Regions from separate parts of the Homo sapiens genome. Here region 2 is linked to region 1. The links are contacts of gene promoters, found by promoter capture Hi-C in human tissues and cell types (Jung and others, 2019). All regions are on one chromosome and are shown on one strand. Each heading gives the region's core, a stretch centred on a gene start or on the middle of the fragment in contact. The rest is flanking DNA. Distances are from core to core; before and after follow the strand shown.

Region 1 (4,370 bases), core at 936-3,435:
AGCCGGCTCGGTTCTGGCGGTTGACCTCGCAGGCCCCTGGGAGAGAAAAGGGGGCCGTCCACGGAGATGCCAACACCGCGGCCCGACTTGATCCACTCACCTCCCTGCAAGCCTCGGGCACAGCACCTGCATATGGGGTGGTCTCAACGTTCTCCCCACAATAGCTACCTGGTTCCTCCCTCACTAAGGTGTTGCTCAAATACCATCTGCTCAGTGAAGGACCTTCCTGTTTCATCTTTTTTTTTTTTTTTTTTTTTTTTTTGAGACATAGTCTCGCTCTGTCACCCAGGCTGGAGTGCAGTGGTGCGATCTCAGCTCACTGCAATCTCCACCTCCGGAGTAGCTGGAACTACAGCATGTGCCATCACACCCAGCTAATTTTTGTATTATTTAGTAGAGACAGGGTTTCACCATGTTGGCCAGGCTAGTCTCGAACTCCTGACCTCAAGTGATCCACCCACCGTAGCCTCCCAAAGTGCTGGAATTAGAGGCATGAGCCACTGGCCCAGTGGCTATTTCAAATCAAGTCCCTGTTTCAAATCAGGCAGGGACTTGGTTTTGTTTGCTTCTGTATCCCTCAGTACTTAGAACAATACTTGGCACATAGTAGATGCTCAGTTAAACATTTGTTGACTGAATAATAAAAGGATATGTTTATTTTCATGGCCACCACCCGCCAAGCCACCATCATTGCTCCCCTAAAGAACAGTGCCAGCCTCCACCCTTCTCTCTGAATCCACTCCAGGTTCCACACAGCAGCCAGGAGCAACTATTTATTTATTTAGAGATGGAGTCTCATTCTGTCGCCCAGGCTGGAGTGCAGTGGCACGATCTCAGCTCACTGCAACCTCTGCCTCCCAGGTTTAAGCGATTCTTCTGCCTTGGCCACTTGAGTAGCTGGGATTACAGGCATGCACCACCACGCCCAGCTAATTTTTGTATTTTTAGTAGAGACGGTTTCACCATGTTGGTCAGGCTGGTCTCGAACTCCGACCTCATGATTCGCTTGCCTCAGCTTCCCAAAGTGCTGGGATTACAGGTGTGAGCCACCGCGCCTGGCCAAGAGCAACAATTCAAAATGAATTTGGTTGCCAGGACACTGGCTCACGTCTGTAATCCCAGCACTTTGAGAGGCCGAGGTGGTTGATCACTTGAGGTCAGGAGTTCGAGACCAGCCTGGCCAATGTGGTGAACCCCATCTCTACTAAAAACACAAAAAATAGCCAGGCGTGGTGGCAGGCACCTGTAATCTCAGCTACTCAGGAGGCTGAGGCAGGATAATCACTTGAACCTGGGAGCTGCAGTGAGCCAAGATCACGCCACTGCACTCCAGCCTGGGTAACACAGTGAGACCCTGTCTCAAACAAACAAACAAAAACACCTGCCAACACCTTGATTTCAGACTTCTGGCCACCTGTTGTAAAAAAAAAAAAAAAAAAAAAAAAAGCCAGGTGCAGTGGCTCACGCCTTTAATCCCAGCACTTTGGGAGGCTGAGGCGGGCGGATCATGAGGTCAGGAGATTGAGATCATCCTGGCTAACTCAGTGAAACCCCGTCTCTACTAAAAATACAAAAAAAAAAAAAAAATTAGTCGGGTGTGGTGGTGGGTGCCTGTAGTCCCAGCTACTCAGGAGGCTGAGGCAGAAGAATGGCATGAACCCGGGGGACGGAGCTTGCAGTGAGCCGAGATTGCGCCACTGCACTCCAGCCTGGGTGACACAGCTAGACTCCATCTCTCAGAAAAAAAAAAAAAAACCTGCCAACACCTTGATTTCAGAAGTCTGGCCACCTGTTGTTTGAAGCAGCTCACAGTGATACTTTGATGGCAGCCCTAGGAAGCAAAACAGCCTGGTCAACACTGCCTATCCTGAATGAAACACAAACGTGAGCTCAGTTTCCTCTGGGATCAGTTCTGTTACCATCCTGGTCCCTGTTCCTCACAGTGCCTGTTTGGATGATATTTCCTGGAGTGGCTGTTTTAATCCCTGTCTCCTGCCATTCTGAAGGCTCTGAGGATTGAGGTAGTTTAAGGAAATGAATGAGAAGCTTGGGGAAAGGAGCGGGGTCGGGGTCATGAGATGGATAACCTAGTGAGGAAGGAGAGCTGAGATGAGGGACTGAGGAGTAAAGGGTTAAGTCAAATGACAGCAAAAATGGAGGCCAGGCATGGTGACTAACGCCTGTACACCCAAATGCTTAGGGAGGCCAAGGCAGGAGGATCACTTGAGGCCAGGAGTCTGAGGCCAGCCTGAGCAACATAGGAAGACCCCCCCATCTCTTAAAAAATTTGGCCGGACACGGTGGCTCACGTCTGTAATCCCAGCACTTTGGGAGGCCAAGGCAGGCAGATCACAAGGTCAAGAGATCAAGACCATCCTGGCCAACATGGTGAAACACCGTCTCTACCAAAAATACAAAAAATTAGCCAGGCGTGGTGGTGTGCGCCTGTAGTCCCAGCTACTTGAGAGGCTGAGGCAGGAGAATCACTTGAACATGGGAGACAGAGGTTGCAGTGAGCCAATATCACACCACTGCACTCCAGCCTGGTGACAGAGCGACACTCTGCTCCCCGCCAAAAAAAAAATTAGCTGAGTGTGGTGGTTCATGCCTGTGGTCCCAAATACTCAGGAGGCTGAGGTGGAAGGATCGCTTGAGCCTGGGAGGTTGAGGCTGCATCACGCCACTACACCCCAGCCTGGAACAAAGCTGTCTGTAAAAAGGGGTTGGGGGGACGTTCCCTGTTTGGGTGGCATGCTGTGTGGGTGTCCATGCCTTCCACTAAGACACCGTGTAAGGCGTCAGGTGGTCAGGGAGGAGCACCCAGAAATAACCAGAGTGGGGTCCTTGCAGGCTAGCCAAGGACCCACCTATCTTCCTGCTCCCTCTCCCTTTTCTCTTGCAGCTACCTTGACCTTGCTTAACTAAAGAATCACCCTGGCTAGGCACAGTGGCTTACGCCTATAATTCCAGAACACTGGAGGCCAAGGCAGGAGGATCACTTGAGCTCTGGAGTTCGAGAACAGCCTGGACAACAGAGCGAGACCTCATCTCTACTAAAAATACAAAAATTAGCCGGGTGTGGTGGAGAACGCCTGTAATCCCCGCTACTTGGGAGACTGAGGAGGGAGGATCAATTAGGCCCAGGAGTTGGAGATCAGCCTGAGCAACATGGTGAAACCCCATGCCTACAAAAAAATTTAAAAAGAATCACCCTTTGTTGACTTCATCCCCTGGTTGTCTTCTGCTACGGCCCTTACTAGCATTTGAAATTATTTCACGTTTTTACTTGATAATCGTCTCTCTCCACTCTTCACTCACCACCCCCACCACACACACACACACACACACACACACACACACACACACACACACACTCAAAACTACACATTCCTGAAAGTTCTGTGGGAGCAGGCATTTATTCAACACTTGACGGTTTGCTGTGGGTTTGTCAGGCAGGCAGGTAGGGTCGGGTGAGAGAGGGGTATGGAGAAGAATCCACAACAGGCTGAAGGAGGATGACAGAGGCAAAGAGACAAGGGGTGGGGGCAGTGAAACGGAGAGGGAGCAGTGGGTAATTGTCCCCGCAAGGTCCAAGGATTACTGGAGTTGGGGAATGGGAGCCTGTGAGCCGAGAAGCTGGGAGGTGAGGGTCGGGAAGTGGGGAGCTGAGAAGTGAGATTCTGTAACGGGCACAACTATTAGGGACATCAAGGTCTGGGGCTGATGTTATACCTGTAAAGCTGATGTGGGGCAGAGTCAAGGTCAAGGAAGGAGAGCAGCCAGGAGGTTGCAGGGATCATGGGGGAGGATGTTGAAATTGACAAGTGGGCCGAGCGCGGTGGCTCACGCCTGTAGTCCCAGCACTTTGGGAGGCTGAGGTGGGCGGATCACGAGGTCAGGAGATCGAGACCATCCTGGCTAACACGGTGAAACCCCATCTCTACTAAAAATACAAAAAAAATTAGCCGGGCGTGGTGGCGGACACCTGTAGTCCCAGCTGCTGGGGAGGCTGAGGAAGGAGAATGGCATGAACCCGGGAGGCAGACCTTGCAGTGAGCCGAGATGGCGCCACTGCACTCCAGCCTGGGTGACAGAGCGAGACTCCATCTCAAAAAAAAAAAAAAAAAGGAAATTGACAAGTGCCGGCTGGGTGCGGTTGCTCACTCCTATAATCCCAATACTTTGGGAGGCTGAGGCGGGCAGATCACCTGAGGTCAGGAGTTAAAGACCAGCCTGGCCAACATGGTGAAACCCCGTCTCTACTGAAAATACAAAAATTAGCCGGGCATGATGGCGCTTGCCAGTAATCCCAGCTACTCGGGAGGCTGAGGCAGGAGAATCACTCGAACCCGGGAGGCAGAGGTTGCAGT
Region 2 (4,555 bases), core at 524-3,023, 37 kb after region 1:
GGTCCAGCCCTTTAGCCTCACTCAGTACTTCCTTTGTCCCAACTCTATCCCTACCCCAGGCTCAGAATGTTGGGGTATCTCCACCTGCCTGAGAACTTCAAACATACAGGGGCTGGGCTTAGAGGGCAGCAGCACCTTCGTTCAGTGCATGAGTGAATGAATGAATGAGGGAGAGAAAGAGGAAGGTCTTCCATGTCTGAAACTTTTTTTTTTTTTTTTGACACACAGTCTCACTCTGTCACCCAGGCTGGAGTGCTGTGGTGCAATCTCAGCTCACTGCAACCTCCGTCTCCTGAGTTCAAGCGATTCTCCTGACACAGTCTCCCGAGTAGCTGTAAGCACGTGCCACCACACCCGGCTAATTTTTTATTTTTAGTAGAGACGAGGTTTCACCATGTTGGCCAGGCTGATCTCGAACCCCTGACCTCAGGTGATCCGCCCCCCCCCCCCTCCCACCACCCGGCCTCCCAAAGTGCTGGGATTACAGGCGTGAGCCACCGCGCCTGGCCACAGACTTTTATTTTATTTCTTTTTTAGAGACAGGATCTCACTCTGTTGCCCAGGCTGGAGTGCAGTGGCACCATTGTGGCTCACTGCAGCCTCTACCTCCTGGGCTCAAGTGAGCCTCCCACCTCAGGCTCCCAAGTAGCTGCGACCACAGTCATGGGCGACCGCCCTGGTTCCTCCCTTCCTTGTGTCTCCTCTTTCTGTTCTCTAAGTTCCTGCTTTATTATAGGCAAAGCTCAGGACATTAAAGACCCTGGCGGTAGAGGGTAGGCTATGGGGGTGAGGCCCTGATCCAAGTCCTGCCGCTAAGGCACTCATAATTTCGGGCTCAGGGGAGAAATGGAAGTCAAAGAATCTCATAAACACAGCTGCGATGACGAACCCTTTCACGGGAAGGAACATGCGAGCCCAGAAAAGTCTCTCCTGGTCTTGGGATGGAGGTCACACGAAGCCTCCGCAAGGCAAGGACTTTTGGTGAGTTCCGGGCTCCGCTGAACTCAGCTCTTTTTCTTTTCCTTCCTTTCTTTCCTTCTTCCTTTCTTTCCCTCCTTCCTTCCTTCCTCTTTCTCTCTTTCCTTTCTCTCTCTCTTTTCTCTCTCTCTCTCCTTCTTCCCTCCCTCCCTACCTCTCTCTCTTTTCTTTTTCCGTCCTTCCTTCCTTCTTTCCTTCTTTCTCTCTCTTTTCTTTCTTTTCTTTTCTTTTCTCTTCTTTCATTTTGAGACGTACTCTGGCTCTGTCGCCCAGGCTGGAGCGCAATGGCGCCATCTCGGCGCACTGCAACCTCCACCTCCCGGGTTCAAGCGATTCTACTGCCTCAGCCTCCCGAGTAGCTGGGACTACAGGCGCGCACTACCAAGCCCGGCTAATTTTTTTTTGTATTTTTAGTAGAGACTGGGTTTCACGATGTTGGCCGGGCTGGTCTGGAAGTCTTGACCTCAAGCGTGCGCCCTCTCCGCCACTGGGTAAGGCGGGGGCGGAATAGGGGGCTTGCAATTTCACACTAGAGGCGGGCACCGTGGGGGAAAGAAGAGTCACGTCTCCCACGGTTCGTAGAGGAAGGCCTGCCTGAGCCTGGAGCGGGGGCGGGAGAGCCACAGTTTGGCATCCCCAGGGCATCCCCCAGCCCGCAGACTACCAGGCCTCCAGAGGACAGGACCCCACCCCCGGCCACAGGCCCTGCCCCCAGCACTCCCCGCACCCCGCCTCCAAGACTCCTCCGCCCACTCCGCACCCAACTTATAAAAACCGTCCTCGGGCGCGGCGGGGAGAAGCCGAGCTGAGCGGATCCTCACACGACTGTGATCCGATTCTTTCCAGCGGCTTCTGCAACCAAGCGGGTCTTACCCCCGGTCCTCCGCGTCTCCAGTCCTCGCACCTGGAACCCCAACGTCCCCGAGAGTCCCCGAATCCCCGCTCCCAGGCTACCTAAGAGGATGAGCGGTGCTCCGACGGCCGGGGCAGCCCTGATGCTCTGCGCCGCCACCGCCGTGCTACTGAGCGCTCAGGGCGGACCCGTGCAGTCCAAGTCGCCGCGCTTTGCGTCCTGGGACGAGATGAATGTCCTGGCGCACGGACTCCTGCAGCTCGGCCAGGGGCTGCGCGAACACGCGGAGCGCACCCGCAGTCAGCTGAGCGCGCTGGAGCGGCGCCTGAGCGCGTGCGGGTCCGCCTGTCAGGGAACCGAGGGGTCCACCGACCTCCCGTTAGCCCCTGAGAGCCGGGTGGACCCTGAGGTCCTTCACAGCCTGCAGGTACGTGTCCCCAGGGCTGGTTCTCCGCGCCCCTAGTGGCTCTCCTGGCTTGGAAGGGTATGGACAGGAGTGGGGCGTGGGGGCGGGGTGCGCAACTGTGGCTCCCTGGGCTTCCCTGCGTCAAGGGATGGGCTCCCCCCTTAGGAAGCCGAGGAGGGAGGTTCGCTCAAGGCCAGGAATTCAAGACCACCTAAAGCAAAATAGCGAGACCCCCGTCTCTTCTACACACACACACACACACACACAAAATAAATAAAATAAAATAAAATAAATATAAAATTAAAAAACGACCGGGCGCAGTGGCTCACGGAGCCTCCACCTGCTGTCGAGACTAGCCTGGCCAACATGGAGAAACCTCGTCTCTACTAAAAATACAAAAAATTAGCCTGGCATGGTGTGCATGCCTGTAATCCCAGCTACTTGGGAGGCTGAGGCAGGAGAATCTCTTGAACCCGGGAGGCAGAGGTTGCAGTGAGCCGAGATCGCAGCACTGCACTCCAGCCTGGGCAACAGAGTGAGACTCCTCAAAAAAATAATAGCGATAAAATAAAAATAAAGCCAGGTGCGGTGACTCACGCTTGTAGTCCCAGCACTTTGGGAGGGCGAGGCCAGTGGATCACCTGAGGTCAGGAGTTCAAGACCAGCCTGACCAACACAGTGAAACCCCGTCTCTACTAAAAATACAAAAATTAGCTGGGTGTGGTGGTGGGCGCCTGTAATCCCAGCTACTGGGGAGGCTGAGGCAGGAGAACCTCTTGAACCCGGGAGGCGGAGGTTGCAGTGAGCCGGGATCATGCCATTGCACTCCAGCCTGGGCGACAGAGCTCGACTCCATCTCAAAATAATAATAATAATAAATAAAATAAAATACAAATACAAAAATTAGCCAGGTGTGGTGGCAGCTACTTGGGAGGCTGAGACACAAGAATCACTTGAGTCTGGGAGGCAGAGGTTGCAGTGAGCCAAGATTGCGCCACTGCACTCCAACCTGGGTGACAGAGCGAGACTCTGTCTGAAAAAATAAAAAATAAGCCAGGCATAGAGCTGCATGACTGTAGTCCCAGCTACACAGGAGGCTGAAAACAGGAGGATCGCCTGACCCCAGGAGTTGGAGGCTGCAGTGAGCTGTGACAGCACCACTGCACTCCAGCCTGGGCGAGAGAACGAGACCCCGTCATTGGGAAAAAAAAGAAAAAAGAAAGACTCCCTTGCCTGGCCTCAGCGGATGGAGATTTGGAAGGATGGATGAGTGGATGAATTAAGAGGTTGGGGTAGGCAAGCTGGGTCCTCACCAAGGTTTTCACCCCTCCCCAGACACAACTCAAGGCTCAGAACAGCAGGATCCAGCAACTCTTCCACAAGGTGGCCCAGCAGCAGCGGCACCTGGAGAAGCAGCACCTGCGAATTCAGCATCTGCAAAGCCAGGTAACCCTAGGATCAAGGGAGAAAAGGTCCCTCTGATAGCTGGACCCCAGGTTGAGAGGGAGGTGGTGAGAACTGGACGTGTGGCTGGGGACGTGGGGCCAGGCAGGACCTGACACCCTCCTCCCGTCCCATCCTAGTTTGGCCTCCTGGACCACAAGCACCTAGACCATGAGGTGGCCAAGCCTGCCCGAAGAAAGAGGCTGCCCGAGATGGCCCAGCCAGTTGACCCGGCTCACAATGTCAGCCGCCTGCACCGTGAGTGTCTGCCCCTCGATGCTCTCCGGTGGCCACCCCTACCCCGCCACTTGCCATTGCTGGTCCTCTCCTTGTCAGGTCCACCTTAAGGAGAAGATGTCCTGGCCTGGAGTCCCTGAGGGCTCACCAGTCTCTGGGTCAAAGCTGATGGGAGCACCTCCTTCCTCAGCCCTGACCTGGCCCAGCCAGGCCACCCAACCCTTCTCCTCTGCAAGCCAGTGGGCTGTCCCTGAAGCCCTGCTGATCACTGATTGGAACAGAGGTGGAGAAAGAGGTCTTGAGGGACTTGAGCTGCAGGGGTGCTGGAGAAGGTAGAAATGGGGTTCGGGGTGCCATCCTGAAGGTTAGAACCTTCTAGGGGAGGGTGTCATGGAGGAGGGGGTGCCAGGTAGTAGTGTTTGTAGATTTGGGCCCTCCACAATGTCTTGGGGTATGTGGGAATTAGGGCTGGGAACCCCCAGCTCCCAGACCAGAAACACTCTTGTATCTTACAAATCCAATGCTCCAGGTCCCTGACCCCTCTTCCTCCTTCCTCTCTTGTTCTCCTCCTCCCTCCCCGCCCCCGCCGGCCCCCTCCCCACCGCAGAAAGTGGGCTTTTGCTGCCACCACAAGTTGT

Evidence for each region. Contacts are between HindIII fragments. The study calls those that stand out against the background at their distance.
Region 2: a contact is called between the fragment with the promoter of ANGPTL4 here and a fragment that was not itself captured in region 1, in 4 of the 25 tissues and cell types used here (bladder, liver, pancreas and 1 more).

Annotation. Positions count from the first base shown.
Region 1 is chr19:8,325,061-8,329,430 of GRCh38, forward strand. It overlaps KANK3 (KN motif and ankyrin repeat domains 3), which reads right to left. Exons shown (of 11, transcript NM_198471.3): 8 at 1-36. Among named protein-coding and RNA genes, the nearest start is that of RPS28, 5.8 kb to the left of the region's middle. The HindIII fragment of the contact is 8,731 bases long and covers 1-4,370 here.
Region 2 is chr19:8,362,382-8,366,936 of GRCh38, forward strand. It overlaps ANGPTL4 (angiopoietin like 4), which reads left to right and starts at 1,774. Exons shown (of 7, transcript NM_139314.3): 1 at 1,774-2,258; 2 at 3,573-3,683; 3 at 3,821-3,938. The coding sequence starts at 1,941. RefSeq lists an enhancer at 1,391-1,440. The HindIII fragment of the contact is 14,542 bases long and covers 1-4,555 here.